Regions from separate parts of the Homo sapiens genome. Here region 1 is linked to region 2. The links are contacts of gene promoters, found by promoter capture Hi-C in blood cells and fetal thymus (Javierre and others, 2016). All regions are on one chromosome and are shown on one strand. Each heading gives the region's core, a stretch centred on a gene start or on the middle of the fragment in contact. The rest is flanking DNA. Distances are from core to core; before and after follow the strand shown. Region 1 overlaps HDX (highly divergent homeobox). Region 2 holds the start of HDX (highly divergent homeobox).

Region 1 (6,705 bases), core at 3,839-6,338, 69 kb after region 2:
ACATGTACACTTTAATTTATAATAAGAGTTGAAATTAGAAAAATAAGTAAATAAAAAGAAAGATAACCCAAGTTATTTTATAATGGATAGGATACATAAAAATGAAGCTAGGACTTCAGTATTGGCCAAGATTGTCTAATTCCTTTATCCATTTTCTTCCCCAAAAAGTAGAACTATAAACTGTGAAAATAATGTAAGAGGCCACCAAAGGAGAATTCTGAAAGGATGAAAGAATAAAATGACACATTAGGGACTCCAGGAATTAGAGGAACTACAGGGTGTCTTGGTCCCCCACTTAACATTAAAAGGGGATTCAAGCCAGGAACCTCATGTCTCCCACCTTAGCAATACAAGAAAGCTTTGGTAGGCTCATTCCCCATCCCCCATCTGCCACCAGTTGGAGCAGGAATTTCAAGAACAACATGAAGTGAGCCTGGCAACTCTGACAAAGAAGATTAACTGGAAGTTTTGCTGACAATAAGCAGTCAGGAGAGCTACTCTCTGTTCCTGCTAGACCAGGACGTTCTCTCCCACATCAGAAGACACCAGGCAGTAATATCAAGGAAGATACTGACACAAAGAGTAGCTTAGTCTCTTGACTCCTGGAAGCAAGATAATTACTTCCTCTACCTAGAGATAAAAGTGGCTTATTGGCAACAGGAAGAGGGAACAAGCCACAATGGGCAACTAGTCTAAAAAGTGTGCTATGTATTCCTGAAGGATGGAGATTCCATTTTCCACCGAAGGACACTAGTTTGTTGGGCAACACCAATGGGGGTAGGTATCTCCTCACATGTGCCTGGTCTAGATCAGCTCCTTCTGTCCTCTTAGGTGGCACCAGTAGGGATTACTGGAAGCTCTAGTGGAACTAGGTAAATCAAGCAGATGAAAATAACACCACAGAAGTTATGAAAGTTGAACTATTATTGGAACCATAGCCAATAAAAGTAGGCCAGGACTTGCATGTTAAACATAACCTGGTGACTGCCTGCAAAATGTTTTTAAAAAGCCAAGCATGATTATATGTGCCTGTAGTCCCAGCTACTTGGGAGGCTGAGGTGGGAGGATTGCTTGAGCCCAGTAGTTCAAGTCCAGACTAGGCAACATAGCAAGGTCCTGTCTCTTAAAAAAAAAGTCTCCTAAGGTAGTGACCAAAGTAGACTGGAAACAATTCAAGATTGCTCCTTGAATTAAATTATTACCTTTATTACTATATAATGTTTGCCTTTGTCTCTTTTTACAGCTTTTTACTGAAGTTTGTTTTATCCAATATAGATACAGTTACTCATACTTGCTATTGGTTTCTATTTGCAAGGAATATCATTTTCCATCCTTTAACTTTCATTCTATGCATATCTCTACAGGTGAGGTGAATTTATGTAGACAGCATATAGTTGGATAAATATATATGCATCCAATACTGGAGGACCCACATAGAGCAATTATTACTAGATCCAAAAGGACAGATAGACTGTAATACAATAAATGTTGAGAACTACAATGCCTCACTCTCAGTATTGGACAGATCATCTAGAAAGAAAATTAACAACAACAACAACAAAAACACGCAATGCATTTAAACTGCACCATGGACAAAAAAAAAAAAATCCCAGCAAACATTTACAAAACATTTTCATCCAACGGCTGCAGAATACACATTAATCAGCACATGGTGTATTCACTAGGATTAACTATAGGTTAGGACACAGACAAGTCTCAACACATTTTTAAAAGTTAAAATCGTATCAAATATCTTATCTGACCACAATGGAATAACACTGAGCATCAATAATAGAGAAACATTTGAAGCTATACAAATACATAGAAAATAAACAACATGCTCCTGAATGACTAACGGGTGAAAGGAGAAAATAAGAATACAATTTTAAAATTTCTTGAAGCAAATGAAAATAGAAACACAACATACCAAAACCTATGGGTCACAGCAAAGGCAGTATTAAAGCCAAGTTAATAGCAATAAATGTCTACATCAAAAACTAGAAAAAAAATCAAATAATCAAGTTAAAATGCATTTTTCTTTTTTTTTATTATACTTTAAGTTTTAGGGTACATGTGCCATGCTGGTGCGCTGCACCCATTAACGCGTCATCTAGCATTAGGTATATCTCCCAATGCTATCCCTCCCCCCTCCCCCCACCCCACCACAGTCCCCAGAGTGTGACATTCCCCTTCCTGTGTCCATGTGATCTCATTGTTCAATTCCCACCTATGAGTGAGAATATGCGGTGTTTGGTTTTTTGTTCTTGCGATAGTTTACTGAGAATGATGGTTTCCAATTTCATCCATGTCCCTACAAAGGACATGAACTCATCATTTTTTATGGCTGCATAGTATTCCATGGTGTATATGTGCCACATTTTCTTAATCCAGTCTATCATTGTTGGACATTTGGGTTGGTTCCAAGTCTTTGCTATTGTGAATAGTGCCACAATAAACATACATGTGCATGTGTCTTTATAGCAGCATGATTTATAGTCATTTGGGTATATACCCAGTAATGGGATGGCTGGGTCAAATGGTATTTCTAGTTCTAGATCCCTGAGGAATCGCCACACTGACTTCCACAATGGTTGAACTAGTTTACAGTCCCACCAACAGTGTAAAAGTGTTCCTATTTCTCCACATCCTCTCCAGCACCTGTTGTTTCCTGACTTTTTAATGATCCCTTCCTTACACCTTATACAAAAATCAATTCAAGATGGATTAAAGATTTAAACGTTAGACCTAAAACCATAAAAACCCTAGAAGAAAACCTAGGCATTACCATTCAGGACATAGGCGTGGGCAAGGACTTCATGTCCAAAACACCAAAAGCAATGGCAACAAAAGCCAAAATTGACAAATGGGATCTAATTAAACTAAAGAGCTTCTGCATAGCAAAAGAAACTACCATCAGAGTGAACAGGCAACCTACAACGTGGGAGAAAATTTTCGCAACCTACTCATCTGACAAAGGGCTAATATCCAGAATCTACAATGAACTCCAACAAATTTACAAGAAAAAAACAAACAACCCCATCAAAAAGTGGGCAAAGGACATGAACAGACATTTCTCAAAAGAAGACATTTATGCAGCCAAAAAACACATGAAAAAATGGTCATGATCACTGGCCATCAGAGAAATGCAAATCAAAACCACTATGAGATATCATCTCACACCAGTTAGAATGGCAAGCATTTTTCTTAAGTAAGTAGAAAATCAAGAACAAGCCAGATCCAAAATTAGTAGAAGGAAAGAAATAATAAAGATCAGAGAACTAAATGAAATGGAAACTAAAAAATATATAAAATATCAATGAAACAAAAAGTTTTCTGAAAAGATAAGCAAAATTGACAAATCCTTAACTAGACTAAGAAAGAAATAGAGAAGACCCAAGGAAATAAAATCAGAAATGCAAAAGGAGATGTCATACTGGATACCAAACAAATAAAAAGGATCATTAAAACTACTATGAACAGCAACATGCCTAAAAATTAGAAAACCTGAAAGAAATGAATAAATTTCTGGATACATATGACTTACTAACATTGAACCAAGAAGGTAAAGAAAATCTGAAGGGACAAATAAAAATAATGAGATTCAGTTAATAATAAAAAGTTTTCCAAAAAATAAAAGTCCAGGATTGAATGGCTTCATCACTGAATTCTACCACACCTTTAAAGAAGAATTATTACCAGTTATTCTCAAACTATACCAAAACATCGAAGTGGAGATAACTCTTCCTATCATATTCTATGTGGCCAGCATAACCCTGATACCAAAAGCATAAAATGATACAACCGAAAAAGAAAACAACAGGCCAATATCACTGAAGAACATAGATACAAAAATCCTCAATAAAAAACTAGCAAAATTAATCCAATAATATATCAAAAAATATGCCATGATCAAATGAGATTTATCCCAGGAAAGCAAGAATGGTTTAACATACACAATCAGTAAATATGTTACATCACATGAATAGAATGAAGAAAAAAACATTATCTCAATAGATGCAGAAAAAGCATTTGATAAAATTCAGCATCCATTATTTATTTGAATTCTTGATAAATTAAATATAGAAGAAAATACTTCAACACAACAAAGGTCATATATGAAAAATTCACAGCCTAAATAATACTGAATGGAAAAAGGGTGAAAGCCTTTCTTCTAAGAATTGGAAAAAAACAAAGATTCCCACTTTTATCAATTCTATTCAGCATAGTACTAAAAGTCTTGGCCACGGTGATTAGGTAAGATTAAAAAAAAAGGCATCCAAATTGGAAAGGACAAATTAAAATTATCCTTTTTTAACAGACAATGTAATCTCATACATAGAAAAACTTAAAGACTCAAACACAAAACTCTTAAAACTGGTAAGCAAATTCAGTAAAGTTGCAGGATACAACATCAACATACATATTCAGTAGCATTTTTATGCGTAAACAACAAACAGGATGAGAATTAAATCAAGAAGACAATGCTATTTACAAAAACTGAAAGAAATAAAATGCCTTGAAATAAATTTAACCAAGGAGTTGAAAGAACTGCAATTAAAAAAAACAAAACATTGATGAAAGGAATTGAAGGATACACAAATAAATAGAAACACATTCCAAGCTCATGGACTGGAAGAATTAATATCATTAAAATGACTATACGGCCCACAGGAATCTACAGATTCAATAAAATATTTATCAAAGTACCAATGAAATGTTTTATGGAAATAGAAAAAATAATCCTAAAATTTATATGGAACCAAGGAAGAGCCAGAATAGCCAAAGCAATACTGAGTAAAAAGAACAATGCAGGAGGCATCACACTACCAAACGTCAAAATATGCTACAAAGCTGTAGTCACCACAAAAGTATGGTTTTGATATAAAAACGAACACATAGAACCATAAAACAGAGGAGAGAACATATAAATTAATTCACGTACTTACAGCCAGATGATTTTTGACAAAGGTGCCAAGAGCACTCGCTGGGAGAAGAAAGCCTTCTATAAATGGTGATGGAAAAACTGGATATTCACCAGCAGAAGAATGAAATTAGACCTCCTCTCACACAAAAAATAAAAATCAACTACAAATGGATCAAATACCTAAATGAGAGACCTCAAGCTACAAAGCTACTAGAAAGAAACATAGGTAGTGTGCTTCAGGACATTTTCCCAACAAATAGAACAAACAGCAGGTCAGGAAAACATTTTATCAATAAGACCTCAAAGGCACAGGCAACAAGAGAAAAAATAAATCGGATTGTATCAAACTAAAACGTCTCTGCATAGCAAAGCAAACAACAGAGTTAAAGGTCAACCTAAAGAATGGGAAAAATATCTGTGAACTGCTCACCCAACAGCAGATTAAGATCCAGAATATTTTTAAAAACTGCAACATCTCAACAGAAAAAAAATCAAATTTTTAAAGAAATAAGTAACCTGAAAAGATATTTCTCAAAGAAGACAAAAAAATGGCCAACAGGTATGCTGACATTATACTGATTGGGCAAAAGCTGGAAGCATTCCCCTTGAAACCCAGAGCAACACAAGAATGCCCCCTCCCACCACTCCTATTCAACATAGTGCTGGAAGTCCTGGCCAGAGCAATCAGGAAAGAGAAAGAAATAAAAACCATCCAAGTAGGAAGAGAGAAAGTCAAACTATCTCTGTTTGCAGATGATATGGTTCTATACCTAAAGAACCCCATAGTCTCTGCCCAAAAGCTCCTTTATCTGATAAATAATGTAAGCAGAATACAAGATACAAAAGCAGTGTACAAAAATCAATAACATTTCTATACAAAAACAACATCCAAGCTGAGAGCCAAATCAGGAACACAATCCCATTCACATTAACCACAAAAAAAACCTAAGAATACAGCTAACAAGAGGGGTGAAATATCTCTACAATGAGAATTACAAAACACAGCTGTAGGAAATCAAAGATGACACAAATAAATGGAAAAACATTCTATGTTCATGGATAGGAAGAATCCATATTGTCAAAATGGCCACCTGCCCAAAGCAATCCACAGATTCAATGCTATTCTGATCAAACCTATGACATTCTTCACAGAATTAGAAAAATCTGTTTAAACATTTGTATGGAACCAAAAATGATCCCAAATAGCCAAAGCAATCCTGAGCAAAAATAACTAAGCCAGAGGCATCACATTACTTGACTTGAAACTATACTAGAAGACTACAATAAGCAAACTGTCATGGTATTGGTACAAAAACAGACACATAGACCAATGGAACAGAATAGAGAGCCCGGAAATAATGTTGCATACCTACAACCATCTGATCTTTGACAAAGTTGGCAAAAACAAGCCATGAGAAAAAGATTCCATATTCAATAGATGATGCTAGAATAACTGACTAGTCACATGTAGAAGATTGAAACTGGAATCCTTTCTTATACAATATAAAAAAAATCGACTCAAGATGGATTAAACACTTACATATAAAACCTATAACTATAAAAACCCTGAAAGATAGCATAGGAAATATTCTGTACATAGGACTGAGCAAAGACTTCATGATGAAAATGCCAAAATCAAGAGTAATAAAACCAAAAATTAACAAATGGGACCAAATTAAACTGAAGAGCTTCTGCACAGCAAAAGGAACTTTCAACAGAGTAAACAGACAACCTACAGAATGGGAGAAAATATTTGTAAACTATGTATCCAACAGAGATCT
Region 2 (6,639 bases), core at 2,455-4,954:
ATTGAGGCCTTTTGACTTTACAAAACAGTCTCTATCATTTTTGAACACTTGAATTTTAAGCTGAGACTTTTTTTTCCCATCAGTTATCCATTTTGGCCTTGGTAGTGCCCTCTGGAAAACCACAACATAAGTCACATTTGTCTTTGCTCAGCAGTCTTTCAAATATTTGAAGGTAGTTATATATTCTTGAGATCTTCTCCTCTTTAAGCTAAGCATCCTCAGCTCCTGGAGACTTGCCTCAAATCATGTATTTTTTAGATGCCTCATCATCCTGGTTTTTCTTCTCTAAATGCAGCTATTTGTGAATGTTTATTTTAAAATAAGGATAATCAACAGAAGAGACCAAGTGTGGTCTGACTAGGGTAGAGACTAGTAGAACCCTTAACTCTCTTGATTCAGATAATAACTTTTTATTAATGTAGTTTAAGTATGAATTATCTTGTTTAACAGCTTTGTTATACCAGTTCATATTGAATTTACAGAATTTTTAGATGAACTTCCCAACTTAGGTGTTTATTGCCCTTCCTGTACTTATGCAACTGATTTTTGTAAACCTAGAATCAAGACTTACTGTTTATCCATGTCAAACTTCATTTTATTGCATTTGTTTGTTGAGTCTTTTGAGATCTTTGAAATCTTGGTTAATATCCATGGTTTAATTATTCTACTTAGATACTTTTTACTTACAAGTTCAATAAACATGCTTTTAATTGATATATTGTGAACAGGACAGGTACCGGTATCTTAGGCATGTATTGAAAACATCTCTCATCCCTGAATACCTATTACTGCACTACACAATCTATGCTCTCCCCTATCTATTCATTCAACAAAGACCCATTGAGTGCCTACTTAATGCTAGGTACCACTACAACTCTAGGTACTGGAGATATAACAGTAATAAGAGAGGCAACTTCCTACCCCCTTGAACTTTTCATTCTGTTGGGGAAAGGCAAAATAACTAACCAACAAAACTAATAATGTATTTTTCCATAGTGATATGAGAAAAATTAAGCACAGCAAGAAGATACAGGAGACAGATAATTGTGGTGGTGGTGGGGCAATGCTATTTTAAATTGATTGGTCCATGAAGTCCCATCTGAGAAGGTAACATTTTAGCAGACAGCCTGAATTATGTGAAGTATGCTATGTGAAGATCTGGGGAAAGAGTTTCCCAAGAAATAATAGCAAATGCAAAGTCTCTGAAGAGGAAATAGGCATTCCAGAGAGAAAACAGATAACCAAAAAGACCAGAGTAGCTACAGCATAATGAGCCAGGGCAGGAACAAATGGTGGGAAATACACCATAGAAAGGACTTGGGACTTTATTGTTAATGTAATGAGATGCATTTGGAGGGCTTTAAATCAGGTAGTGATATGGTCTGATTCAAACTTTATAAAGAATATTTTGACTGATGTTAAGAGAAACTTTTGAAGAAGGACAAGAGTGGAAGAAAATAAACGATGTAAGATGCTTTTGCAGTATTTCAAACTAGAAGTTACAGTGACTTTAGTGTAACGGTGATAGAGGAGGTACAGAGTATTCAGATTTGGGGCCTAATTTGAAGGTACAGTCTTCAAACATACTAGTGGCTTAGCTACAGAGTGAGAGGGGAAAAGAGGAAGGAAAAATTGGATTAATTTAATTGCCTCTATTTGTACTGTGATTTCATACAAGTCTTCTTGTGTCTTTGCATTATAAACCCTTCAAGGGTAGGGACTCTGATCCTTTTTCTCATATCACTTCAGTTTCAGGTAATTCATAAACGTAATTTATGAATACGTTAATCAATTATCAATAGGCTTTTTCTGAATCCTCCACTTTACCCATATAATTCCTTCTTTGAAAGTCTCATATTTCATCATTTTTAACACCCTAATCTAGGGGTGTGTCACCTAGAAGCTGGGTTAGCATTACAACTGTCTAACTGGTCTCTCTCACTCCAGCCTATCGCAATGTTACTGAAAATGCAAATTAATGACTTGAAAAATGTGCTTTCAGTCATTCATTCAATACGTACTTACTTATTTGTCTACTTTGTATTTAGAGGCTTTCTAGATTTGAGGGATATAATAATAAACAAAACAGACAAAAATCCCTGCCTTCATAGAGCTTACATTTGCAATAACTAAATATATAAAATACATTTAATAATAATAAATACTATGAAGAAAAATGAAACAGAAAAAAGGGTATAGAGAGTGTTAAGGATATCACAATTTTAAATAGGAAAACCTCTTTAAAGAGGTTGCATTTGAGCAAAGATTTCAATCAAGTGATGGAGTAAGTCATATAAAGATCAGACAGTACAACAGTACAGGGTCACTGCTGTGGACATGAGCTTGACTTGTTTGAGAAATAGAAGATTAATATATTTGTGAATTAGTGGCTGAGTGACAGGAGGTGAGGTCAGAAAGATGGCGGAGGCCAGATCATTTAGGGCTTTGAGGACATGGTAAGAAATCTGCATTTTATTGTATATGTGAAAGGAAACCATTGAACAATCTGAAGTTGAGCATAATCTGGCTTTTGTTTTAAAAAATCACCTAAACTCCTCTGTAGATAATTGACTATAGAGGATTGAGGTCACATGCTTTATGGCTTTTGGTGGCTTTTAATCAAATAAAAGTTATCTGCCTATTTTCAAAGGCTTTTATTATTAGCCAATTCCATCTACCACTAGTCCTCAGCATATGCCCTCTATTTGTCAAGCTGATTTCATCATGGGCTTCCTCACATCATATGAATTTATACGTCTCTACCTTTGCCTATCTTTCCCCTTTAAGACGGTGACTTCCATCTGCTCTTATCCACCATTCAAGAACCATCTCAAGTTTTAATTACATAAAATGCTTCCCTGACTTTTCACCTCACTGATGTCTCCAATAATTAAATAATGTAGCTCTTGTCTGTAGTTAATGACTGAGCACATGATCATGTACTTTATTTTATTGTTGTGAATATTTACTGTGTGCTAATCTTGTCTTCCAAACGATGTTGCAAGTTCTATGATAGCAGAGAATCAATGAATTCTATATCTCTCATGGCATCCAGCAAATCTGGGAAGTATATCAAGTGACTGTTAAATGATGTAACATGTGGCTTGACTTCTTTTCTGGAATGGTATAATGGTGATCACCCAAGAAGCTTCTGCCAGAATAGGAATTGAGGTTGGATGAATAAAAACCATAGTTTCTTTCCTCAGTCATCAGAGCCAACCAGTCACGTATAATAGTACACTTGCTTTTACTGTAAAATTCTAAAGGCTCGATGGACACCTTATTGATTTTAGTAAAACTGAATATTTACCTGTCAATCGAACACTGACCACAAAGGACTGTATTTCCTTATGCTATCATTTGATTTTGGCAGCATGTAACAATTTTGTTAAAACCCAATGTCAAGTTGGAAGGCCAGGCAGCACCTGCTCAAATGGCTGGCATGTAACTACTATAGTCACAGGGATGCTCGGTGTTCACAGCTATTCAGGAAGGTATAGAGAGCCCTGGCCGTAGATGTAGCTGATTTGTGTGAGGAAGAGGCAGTCCAGTTGCAGGCAGCCATCTCTCTTCCCCCCTCCCAACTCTTGGGTTCTGGGCTGAGGCCAGGGACTGTCCTGAGCTGATCGCAGGCTCCCATTGGCCGCTGTCTTTTGTGACGTCACGATCATGATGAGAATTGATGATCGGACACGCTGATTTCATTGTCTGAAGCGGCACTGGAGACCCAGGAAAAATCTCGCTGAATCCGCCTGCCCCAGCAGCGGCCTGATCTGGGTTCCGCTGATTCCTTTCGTAACCGCACCACACCCGAGGTAAGCACTCAACACTAAGTGGGTGAGAAGGGCGAAGGAGGGAGGGCAAAGCACCGGGATAATGCTTTTCCTAGTTTGGGGCGAGGTTGGGGGTGGGGGGGTCCATAGGTTCCGTGGCCTAAACAGGCAGACAAAAAACTGGTGCGGATCCTAGGGAGCCAAGTGCCTCTATCCTCCTAGCGAAGGCTGGCGGCTGAGTGAGATTAGAAACGAGCTGCGGATAGGGATACAATGGGGATTGCCAGAGAGCGAAGGACCTTGCTCGGAGAGAGAGCGATGTTTGGGACGCGCTTCTGGACGGGTAGTAGGAGGAAGTGGCGCCTCTGCCTCCGAAGAAAGGAGGGGATTGAATTCTACCACTTCTAGATTTCACTGGACAGTAGATTTCTCACAGCCCTACTCAAAGGCACTGAGAGCGTAGCGCCTGCGCATTAGCACCTTGGTGGGGGCGGGGTGGGTCACTGTGAGGAGAATAGGCGTGGAGTTTGCACAGGCGCTGTTTCGGTTTCACTGGAAGAGGTGGGGCTGAGCCATTTCTGTGCTGAATTTGGAAAGTAGAGACCCAGGGAACATCCCAGGCCTTGTGATGTTTCAAGCACCAGTTGATGGGGAGAGATCTGCCATTTAGTTTAAACTGGCCTACTGAGTAAATCCAGCTTCAAAATGAGCCTTATAAATTTGAGAAGGCACATTCTAAATTTCCAGATATTAGATGTTGAATAACGGAATGAACTCTAGAAGAATTTGTGAAATAGAAGTTTATCAGATAAGAAACTGTTTGGAAAAATAAACACTAATTATTCAAATGAATCTAACTTTTAATCTTAAAGGAGCTCTGATTTGAGGTGACAATGATTTTGAACCTTAAATTCTTTGGAAAGACTCAGAATGAAGTCCATTGTGGAGGCTCAGAGTAAGAAATTTTCCTTTCTTGCCTTTTTCTCTTCTTGGGACAATCTCTTATAAATATTTAGTCTCCATATCAAGTTTGGTGCTGAGTCCATCTTCTTCCTCTGTGTCTCTGCTAGAATCACTGAAGTCAAATATTATTTTGAGAAGCCCTTTCCCGCACCCCTTCATTGGGAAGGCTGTTATATTACTTATATTAAGGCTTTTATTACTCAGCAGTTGTGGGGAACAATGAAGAACAACCTGCCTGTCTATTATTGATGAATAGATTGTACAGTATTGTTATTAATTGCCCTCCACAGTCTGATCATAGACTCCTGACAATTTTACAGAGGAATCTGGATTTTTCTCTATTTCTCATAGTTAAGGGATTATCAAGTACTGGTAAATTTTCCTTTGAAAGCCTTCTCACACGTTCCTCCTTTACAATCTAAATTCTCATCAGCACCCATGTAGTCACTGTAGGAGCTTCCTAGGCAGTCTTCACCTGTGCCCCAAATCCTTAGTGGTCTGTGAACACTTCTTTCAACAAATCACTTTCTTTAACCAACATATTCTTGGCCCCTTATTTTCTATTGTTTCAAGCCTAATTCCACCCGAATTTTAAAGAACTTCATAATCTGGCCTCATTGTAATGCAGGAGCCTTATTTTCCTTTATTCTTCAGGGCACAACTCTCTTTAATGTTCAGTTAGTGAGAACAATCTACCTTTATATCTTTGCTCCTTATACCATTACTGTCCCCTCCACGTAGGATGTCCTCCTTCTACATAATTCACATCTTACCCACTTTGGAAACTCAACTCAAATTCCACCCCTCCACAAGTGCCTTCCAAATTAATCTAATGCAAGTGTTACTGACCTCACTTTTCCTAGAATTCCCACGTCAATTATTGTCTTTGTTAGTTGCTTGTAGGCTGCTTTGTATTGTCTCCTTTGTTATTGTTGTTGTTGTTGTTGTTGTGTGTGTGTGTGTGTGTGTGTGTGTTAGACTGGAATCCTCAAATGGATTTTAAACCCTTCCTTAAGGGTTGGGACCATGACATCCATTTCTTTATTATCTGCCCATAGCACCTAACTGAATAATCAAAATAGCTGTAGCTATATATGTTCTTTTTTTTTCCCCTAGAAAACAATTTCCTGGGAAATGAAGCAGTATTTTTATAGAGAGAACTGTATACATGTGAAAGCTTATTCATCGTTGGTCAGGCAAGAGACCCTCCAATGACTAAATAAACCTGAATTTAAGTCAGAGGAAAGAAATTACACAGATCTCTATTTACTGGGTGGCCTTCAAATATATCATGTCCTCATAAACAAGATCAAGGGAGGGAACACTATCCCAGAAGAGGTTCTGTCTGTAATCTTCTCAGTTTGAAAAATACTAAATAAAGAGGTATTCCACTGTTCTATACTTCTCTTTGGTGACATTGTATCATGTATCTTTAAAAATACACAAATTACTCACTTTTTATTACATTTTATCTACAATTGCTATCTTATATTGATTATTCCTGATAGTTTTCATGTGTACATCTCTTGAATCAGAGATGACCTTTGTGATGGTTGTTACAATTGCTATTATATATTGGTTGTCACTTTCCTATCCTTCAGGCTTCAAATTGCATTCTTCTGCAGAGCTCGTTTTACTTGAATGACAGTGTGATTATGGTTTCATACAGAGGTTTTTCACATATTTCACTTTGGCTCCTGCCTCACTTTGAGGTACCATCCCAATATCACATAAAAGTTTTTGACTTAGAAACATAGATTAAAAGCAGTCTGAAGGGTGTTTTAACCTGTAAATTAGAACATCATTATTGTAGATAATTGTAAGTGAACCATGAATGTTATTCATTGTAAGGGAAAATCCTTTGACCTTTTCTCTGATTACCTATATTATATGAAACTCCTCA

The links. The method cuts DNA at HindIII sites, captures the fragments that hold promoters and counts their contacts. A CHiCAGO score of 5 or more calls a contact.
Region 1: a fragment that was not itself captured here is called in contact with the fragment with the promoter of HDX in region 2 in 1 of 17 cell types (monocytes); the score reaches 5.6 in monocytes.

What each region holds. Positions count from the first base shown.
Region 1 is chrX:84,431,735-84,438,439 of GRCh38, reverse strand. The region is part of intron 5 of HDX (highly divergent homeobox); the gene reads left to right. Among named protein-coding and RNA genes, the nearest start is that of HDX, 67 kb to the left of the region's middle. The HindIII fragment of the contact is 9,455 bases long and covers 361-6,705 here.
Region 2 is chrX:84,499,518-84,506,156 of GRCh38, reverse strand. HDX (highly divergent homeobox) reads left to right here and starts at 3,704. Exons shown (of 11, transcript NM_001177479.2): 1 at 3,704-3,815. RefSeq lists a silencer at 3,531-3,680. The HindIII fragment of the contact is 2,765 bases long and covers 3,151-5,915 here.